2 separate regions of the Homo sapiens genome follow, and region 2 is linked to region 1. The links are contacts of gene promoters, found by promoter capture Hi-C in blood cells and fetal thymus (Javierre and others, 2016). All regions are on one chromosome and are shown on one strand. The core of a region is centred on a gene start or on the middle of the fragment in contact, and the rest is flanking DNA. Distances in the headings are between cores, read along the strand shown. Region 1 holds the start of GRXCR2 (glutaredoxin and cysteine rich domain containing 2). Region 2 overlaps KCTD16 (potassium channel tetramerization domain containing 16).

Region 1 (3,975 bases), core at 1,026-3,525:
GCTACATGAATCCATCCTGGTCACTCTCATGCTCAGAATCTGGCTATGATTGGGATGGGGCACTTGATCAGGAAACAAAGAAAACAGAGATAATGAGGCCAAGCAGGAATCAGACCTTCAACATGGCCTCTAAAACACATAGAGTACTGTGTTTTAACCAACTGAGCCATGCTGCCATGAAGACTCATTTACCTAGATTTATAAATTCTATAGTCCTAGCTACCAGAGAGGCTGAGGCAGGAGGATCCCTTGAGCCCAGGAGTTTGAGATTGCTGTGAGTTATGATCATACCACTGCACTCCAGCCTGGTTGACAGATGAGACCCTGTCTCTAAAAAAGAAAAAAAAAATTATACATTTTCATAAATGCTAAATTTAGCACATGACTTATGAAGATCAAGCAACCCAAAATTTATCTACTGTGGCCTTGCATAAGGTTTGCATGAACTGTGACTTTGTAAATTCTAAATCTACAAATAAGACATAGTTAAAAAGAAATAGTATAAGTACAAGACTAGCCAAGTGCCTAGGACCTAATAAGCACTCAACAAATGGTAGCTATTATTATTATGTAATAATATGGTTCTCTAAAAAAAGGAACATGCCCTAAAGCAAAACATTTGTAGCATCAGAAGATCTGGATTCTTATTCTGACTCTGTACCCAATGACCCTGTAGTATCAGATGGATCCCTTAACAACTTGGCACTCAATTTTTCTCTTCTGCAAAATGGGAATGACCATACTTTGGCCTTTCTCCCCAAGGTTATAGTAAAGACCCAATGCCATAGATATAGACAGAGATAGTACATGATGACACTTTGTACTGCATACGTCACCCCATTAAGATAAGAGGTCATTCATTTCAGCCCCTTTTAATATCAAAAACAAGCCTAGTGTTATCTTCGGTAATTGTGAACATGCCCATAATTATACTTTTACCAATGCCAGTAAAGCCAGTAATACATTTGTCTGCAATAGATGTGTTATCTATTCCCTTAGGAAACTAACAATAAAAATAATTCAAGAGTAATTATCTGGCTTTCACACTTTAAAGATGAGAACACATCCTGGTGTGCTATTCATTAATAACGTGGATACATTATATAATTGTATTTTATCTTTTTTAAGAAGTCATTCATGGTCCCACTGACAGCATATATACATCTCCTATGAATTTTTGGATACCAGTGTATGTTTTCCAGGTTCTACCTTAAAAGAAAATCATGTATGGACTTTTGATTATCCATGGTACTGGGAAGTAATTGAAATTCATAGATTAAACACATTCTTCAATCGAACCATTAGCTCAAACTTCTTCCTCACATAACATATCCTCTGGCTGATTTGCGTTTCACCATCCCTTCCCAGGACTCCAACTACCCAGAGCTTATGCTAAGGAGCAATGGAAAGGAAAAATAAATAGACAAAGCAGGCAGTATGAGGAAGGCAATAGGGGTAAAAAACAAGACATGGATAAACTGCAAGCTGAGTAATTGGCTGGAGTAAAATGAGCACTTTCAAATACTCAGCTCTTTCAGGAAACAAAATGACTGCATAATTGTCTAAAACCGCAGTCTGACAACCTGAAAACCACTGCACCTCTATTTAATTTACATTCCAGGAAAACTCAGTCAAAGATCCAATTACAATGTATTACCTTGGATGGAATTTGAATACTATATATGCTCATTGCACTTTCCAATTAGTAGTCAACAAGCATGTTATTTTTACCCCAGAAATATTCGTCTAATAACAACTTCCCATTTGGTGCACCAACAGTTCTGGTTGGTACCGGAGGGGGAGCAAGACACAAATCTGAACCATTTAGGAGTTTCTCTAAACACGTTTTAGGAAGCCCTACCCTTAAAGCCTATATGCCATGCACAATACCAACCTTATGGTCATTCGCCTTGTAATCGTTGAACCGAGGCTGGCCGCCTGCCAAGGTGTAGGCATTACCCTCTCTAAACACACTGATCCTCTGAGCAGTCAGCTTAGGGGAGCACATCTGGGGCCTGGGGACTTCCCCAGACCCATAAACACCATCCATTGTTTCAAGAGACTCTTGCAGAAAACTGTGAGGGTATTCCTCCTTTGGTGACTCTAATTCCTGCCCATCCTCAAAGACCTGCTTCAATACTCGACCGCTGTAGGAGGAGGAGATTTTAAATCGTACTTTCCGGGGTTTGCCATCACTCTTCTGATTCAGCTTTTTCTCAGGGTCCTCCATCAGCAGAAAGTTGACCCTGTGGTCTCCAGCCTTCCGTGCAGCCGGTGAAACTTGGGCCTCTGAGAAAAAGGCATTTTATTTTCTCTCCTCCTGCATATAATTAATTCAAGTTGTTGCTGGGGTATGGTCAGTTTACAGCAACTGACACCCATACATTAAATATTGATAGACCCTCATGAAAAGGCAGGTGATTCTGGTTTGATGGAGTGGATGGAATATAAGACAAGATTGATTCTTCTCATAATCCCAAGCTCACCATGACTTCACCCCAACCCTAACCTTTCTTAACCTGAGGATGAAGAAGTTTATTTAGACTGAACATGTGCCAATTCAATAAGGATCAGACACTCAATTAGTTAACAAGTGTCTTCTTATTGTTAGCAATGACAATTAAAATCTAGTGAGCATTTCATAAGTACCAGAGATTGTTACATGCATTATTTTATTTCATCCTCACGATAACCCTACAAAGAAAATCTTACCTTTGTTTTACACAGGGGAAAGTGAGGCTTAGAGCCACTTGTCATTTATCTTCATCATTTGTCTGCTCTATTACACCTAAGTAAGTGACAGAGCAGGGATTTGAACCCAGATCTATCTGACTCCAAAACCCAAGATCAGCCCACACAACCAGAAGTTTTCCAGTTCTGGTTCTAGAAGAGGGAATGACGTCCTAGATACAGTGGAGGTTCTTGGAGGCTGCTGCTAAGAACAGGAGAAGGCCGAGGGTCCTGGATTCTGGGCCTTCTCCCCCTACGCTAACCAGAGCACCTCCACTTGGTATGTATTTTACATTTAAGATTTCATTTGCAATCACAGCACAAGTCCCCATTGCCTGTTGGACTTCGTAAATGCCTGACACTGAACTAGTGGCTGGAGTGAATAGCACAGAAGCATGTGACCTGGGCCTGAGAACAGTCCTACAATCCCATACAGACCTCACACAGGTGAAATAATAACCTCATGCTTAGAGAGCAAACTGCCCACAGCTGAATCCCAGAATAGCCACTCTGGGAAGGAAGTGGTCTCTAAGGAGACAAGGATGGAAGAAGGTTTGTAAAGAAAAGGGCCCTTGGGCTGGGTAGAAAATGGTAGGTTGGATGTGAGGAGCTGAAAGTGGAGTAAAGCCTTTCTCCCTGTCTTTGCTACCAGCATCACCATTTACTGAGTTACCCAAATTGACCCCTCCTATTCCCCTACAGCCATTCGCTTGGATTCTTTTTTTTTATTATTTTATTTTATTTTTTTTTTTTTGAGACGGAGTCTCACTCTGTTGCCAGGCTGGAGTGCAGTGGTACGATCTCGGCTCACTGCAACCTCCACCTCCTGAGTTCGAGCAATTCTCATGCCTCAGCCTCCCGAGTAGCTGGGACTACAGGCACACGCCACCATGCCCAGCTAATTTTTGTATTTTTAGTAGAGATGGAGTTTCACCATGTTGGCCAGGATGGTCTCAATCTCTTGACCTCGTGATCCGCCTGCCTTGACCTCCCAAAGTGCTGGGACTACAGGCATGAGCCACCGCACCCAGCCCATTCACATGGATTCTTTCACCACTGCCTTCTTTCATCTACCCCTATCACCCTGGCCCTAGGGCAAACCCTCATCACTTTGATTTTTAAAGTTGCAGCTGTCTCCCAAGGACTTCCCTACTCACCCCCAATTCCATTCTCCATATTGATGTGAGAGCAATAGTCCAAAACAACAAATCCACAGGTGTCAGTCTCTTGCTGAAAAATCTTTTC
Region 2 (3,975 bases), core at 701-3,200, 1.5 Mb before region 1:
TAATGTTTTGTTGTGAAAGTCTGTTCTGTGCGTTATAGGATAACTTGAAGCATCCCTGCCCTCTACCTCAGCAGTTTACTGGTCGGGGAATGCAGATTGAACTAAGGCAAGAGTAACGGAGATAAAGAGGAAAGAGGCAGATTATGGTGATATTTAGGAAGTGATGGCACACATATACATATGTAACAAACCTGCACGTTGTGCACATGTACCCTAGAACTTAAAGTATAATAATAATAGCAATAAAGGAAGTGACATTGACAAACTTGGTGGCTGATTGGGTCTGGGAGATAAGAAAGAAACAGGAATCAAATATGGGTCCAAAGTGACTTATTTAAATGTGTGTGTGTGTGTGTGTGTGCACACTCATGGATTTTACTCTTCAGAGGCCATGGTTATAATAGAACAACTGTACTTTTTTTATAGAGGCTGAGGATTGAATCCATGTTTGGGTGTTCTTTGTCAGGGGAACTGCTTTTAATTTTCATTTTGGGTAGGGTCTAATGCATCATGTATAGGTGCATATATGTGGCTCAACCCTTTGCTTTATCTCTGATAAAACCAAAGAGAAAATACCTGTCTGTAAGCCTCAGCATATCCTGGAGGTCAATATTCTTGGGAAACCTATCAAAGGAGAGAGACTGGGGCAAAAATCGCTGCCTTGTGCTCACAGATAACCCTCAGAATAACTTCCCTGATGGCATTGGTTTGGATTGCCCTCCGAATGTGAATTTCACGCTTGATGAAAGTCATCTCAAAGCCAATAGAAGGAATTTGAGCAGAGGAAATCAGATTTATGTAATCTGCTTTAGCCTCTTTCTATTCTAGTATCTCAAGCATCTTTCTGCTCCTTCTCTACCTCAGTGGTTTTAAGCTTCACTTTGTTATTCTGTTTTCCCAGACCTTTTCCCAGCTGTTATGTGACAGGCCACAGGGCAAGTATAGACATGTATTGGTTGCTTATTTTTAATTGAAAAATTTTGTTTTTTGTCCTTAACTTTGAATGGTTTAATGTGGGTATTTCCTGAGTTTCTCAAAATCATACCAGACAAAACAAAACAAAACAAAAAACAAAAGACAATCTCAAAGCGAAATCAAATGAGTCTCTCAGGCCCCACTTCTCTCTGCAAAAAGGTGATTTATGACCTATATTAAGGTTCCCCTGTGTCCAAATTTGTTTTTGTAGTTGGGCCATGTGTAAATCTATTGTCCTGGGGAGTCAGTTATCTACTTGCATGGGTTGATTTATAAAGGAGACTGCGGCACATTGGATAAAGGAGTAGGAAGAATATTTTTGTGCGTACCTGGGACTTGAAACGAGACAGAATATCATGCCATCAGTACTCCATCTGGTTCCTTGGACTCAGTTTGAATGCCAGTGGGGTAAGAGAGTGACTCAGTGCTGAAGGAATTTGTTTTTTCAAAGCCTTAGGTGACAGAGTGTAGCAGAGAGACAAAGATAGGGCTACTGTCTCCACTGTTGCACAGACGTTACAATTACTCCAGCAATACTAGGATTGGCAGCTTTCGGCACATTCCGGACTTGCTTACCTAGCATGGACATTGATTGTAGGAACAATGATAAAGATGAGGAATGTGAATAGGCTTGTTCTGGAAAACACCAAAGTCAACCCTTAGAATCCAGGGAGAAAGTAAATAAGAGACACTCTGATGGGGAGAGTCTAATGCCATCCAAAACAAGTGGACAGAAATCATATAGAATTTGGGTCATCTTACCTTATTTGTACTAAAAGGCATGGGATGTTGAATTAGCCATAAAGGCCCTAGATAGGAAAATATTTGTCTACATGTGCAGTAGAACTTTAATAAAAAACTTGGTATGAGTTCCCTGACAGAATTTCAACCAATGTCCCTCATCTACTTATCACATACTCTGACTCTTAAATGTCATCTACAGTCTCTGCTTTCTGAGTGACAAAGCAGAGAATGTAAAACTAGAAACAAATTGTCTGGCTAAACTCTGGGCTGCTTAGTATGTAAAACCAGTGAATGCCATTAGCTTTGCTGAGCTGATAATCATCAAGGCTGTGGTCTAGTATTTGTCAAAGAGAATCAGGGACCAGGCTTTCTAAGCTGTTGATTTACATCTAAATGTTTCTGTTTGATTGTGTGTTGATTTGGGAATTGGAATGGTGTGCCATGTATTCATCTTCTCACTTTCTTAAGCATCTTGAAATTTAGAACATCCACATTTTAAAAATTTCAAACGGATCCACAAGTAGAAGTATTTGTCCTCCCCTATTTGTGTGAAAAATACAACAGGCTGTACTGAAAACTTTCAGCAAGTGCTATTTATTCTTATTACTTGGCACAGAGCCATCTCAACTCCGTCTCCAAATAGTACAGCCCTATGTGTTTAATTTCTGGTTGTCTAGTTGGGGAAATGTGGGATAGTATTGAACAACAGCAAAAGTCAAATTTTCTCATCATCTTTGTCTACTGAATAAACAGTAAATGAGTTTATATAATGAAAGAGTAAAGAAATGACCTAATCCTCAAAAATTGGATATTTATTAAGGGGACTATGGGATTCTGTAGAAGAATATGTTACCATTTAAAATGAAAACATGTTTAAGAAGCATATCTAATGATATGTCAAAATACTCCTTGTCTAGTGCTAAGTGAAAACAGTAGATCACAAAAATGAATATATACCCCATGTGGATGTTAGGAGGTGAAAGTAACCTTATGCAATAGTTTATGCAAGTGTTTAGTGAGCATCTACAGGGGGAGGACCAACAAGGACCTTTATCTTATAAGCTCACATCATAGTAGCAAAGATAGATAATGAAGTAGCAACTAATCATTCTCCTAAGACTGTGACATTTGAGTCACTTGAATGACAAAATGGAGCCATATATGAAAAATGAAAGAGAATGGCATTCTCATCAGAGAGAAGTGTAAGTTCAAATGACCTGGTGTGAGAATGAGCATGGAATGTTTGAGGAACAGAAGGAAGGCCAATTTTGCTAGAGTGAAGTGATTGAGGAAGGGAGTGGTAGATGATAAGCTTTGAATGGAGCAAAGACACCGGTCACATAAGATTACATGGGCTCCAGTAGAGTCAGGATTTTATTAAGGGAACATGGGAAGCCAGCTTTTAAGCAAGGGAGTGACATAATTGGTTTTATGCTTTTGAAATATTCCTCTGGCTACTATGTGTAGAATGAACTGTAGGGGACAATCAGACCTGTCAGAGAATATTACAGGCACAGAGGAGAGAGATAATGACTTCTTAGTCTAGGTTACGGGTCTCAGTCAGGTCATTCCTCCCATCCCCCAGCCCTTTCAGAAAATACATTAGACAATGTCTCTAGATACTGTTGGTTGTCATAACTGGGAAGGGGTTGCTACTGCTATCTAGAAGAGAGAGACCAGGGATACTACTAAGTATCTTACAATGCACAGGACAACCTCTCACAACAACAAAAATATTTAGCACAAAATGTAAATGAAACTAAAATGGGAAAACCCTGAATTAAGATGGAAAAACCTTGAACTAACCCAGTGGAGATGAGACAAGTAGGTAGATTCTTAGTTAATTCTACAGATTAAATGAACAGGATTCACTGAGAGATTGGATGAGGAGGTAAGAGAAAAAAAGTAATAAATAACCATTCCCTGGGAATTATGCTTTATCCACCACTGTCCAACCTTTTGTCTTCCCTAGGCCACATTGGAAAAAGAAGAATTGTCTTGGACCACACATAAAATACATGAACACTAATGACAGCTGATGAGCTGAAAAAAAAGATCCGTGCATAATTTTCATGATATCCACCACCACAGATAAGCAAAGAAAGTCCTCACATTAAAAGGGTTGGACATCCATGCTTTATACTGAAGTATGAAAGGCTAGATAAAGTTTAAATAGTACATGGCAGAGTTGGGACCGGCAACTCAGATACTCTGACTCTGAAGTCCAGGACTCTCTACCACATCAAGCTTCTCTGT

What was found. Contacts are between HindIII fragments. The CHiCAGO score rates a contact against its expected background, and 5 or more counts as called.
Region 2: a contact is called between a fragment that was not itself captured here and the fragment with the promoter of GRXCR2 in region 1, in 1 of 17 cell types (total B cells). The highest score is 5.3, in total B cells.

Annotation. Positions count from the first base shown.
Region 1 is chr5:145,870,739-145,874,713 of GRCh38, forward strand. It overlaps GRXCR2 (glutaredoxin and cysteine rich domain containing 2), which reads right to left and starts at 2,276. Exons shown (of 3, transcript NM_001080516.2): 1 at 1,895-2,276. The coding sequence starts at 2,230. The HindIII fragment of the contact is 6,212 bases long and covers 1-3,975 here.
Region 2 is chr5:144,420,174-144,424,148 of GRCh38, forward strand. The region is part of intron 3 of KCTD16 (potassium channel tetramerization domain containing 16); the gene reads left to right. Among named protein-coding and RNA genes, the nearest start is that of KCTD16, 250 kb to the left of the region's middle. The HindIII fragment of the contact is 2,157 bases long and covers 873-3,029 here.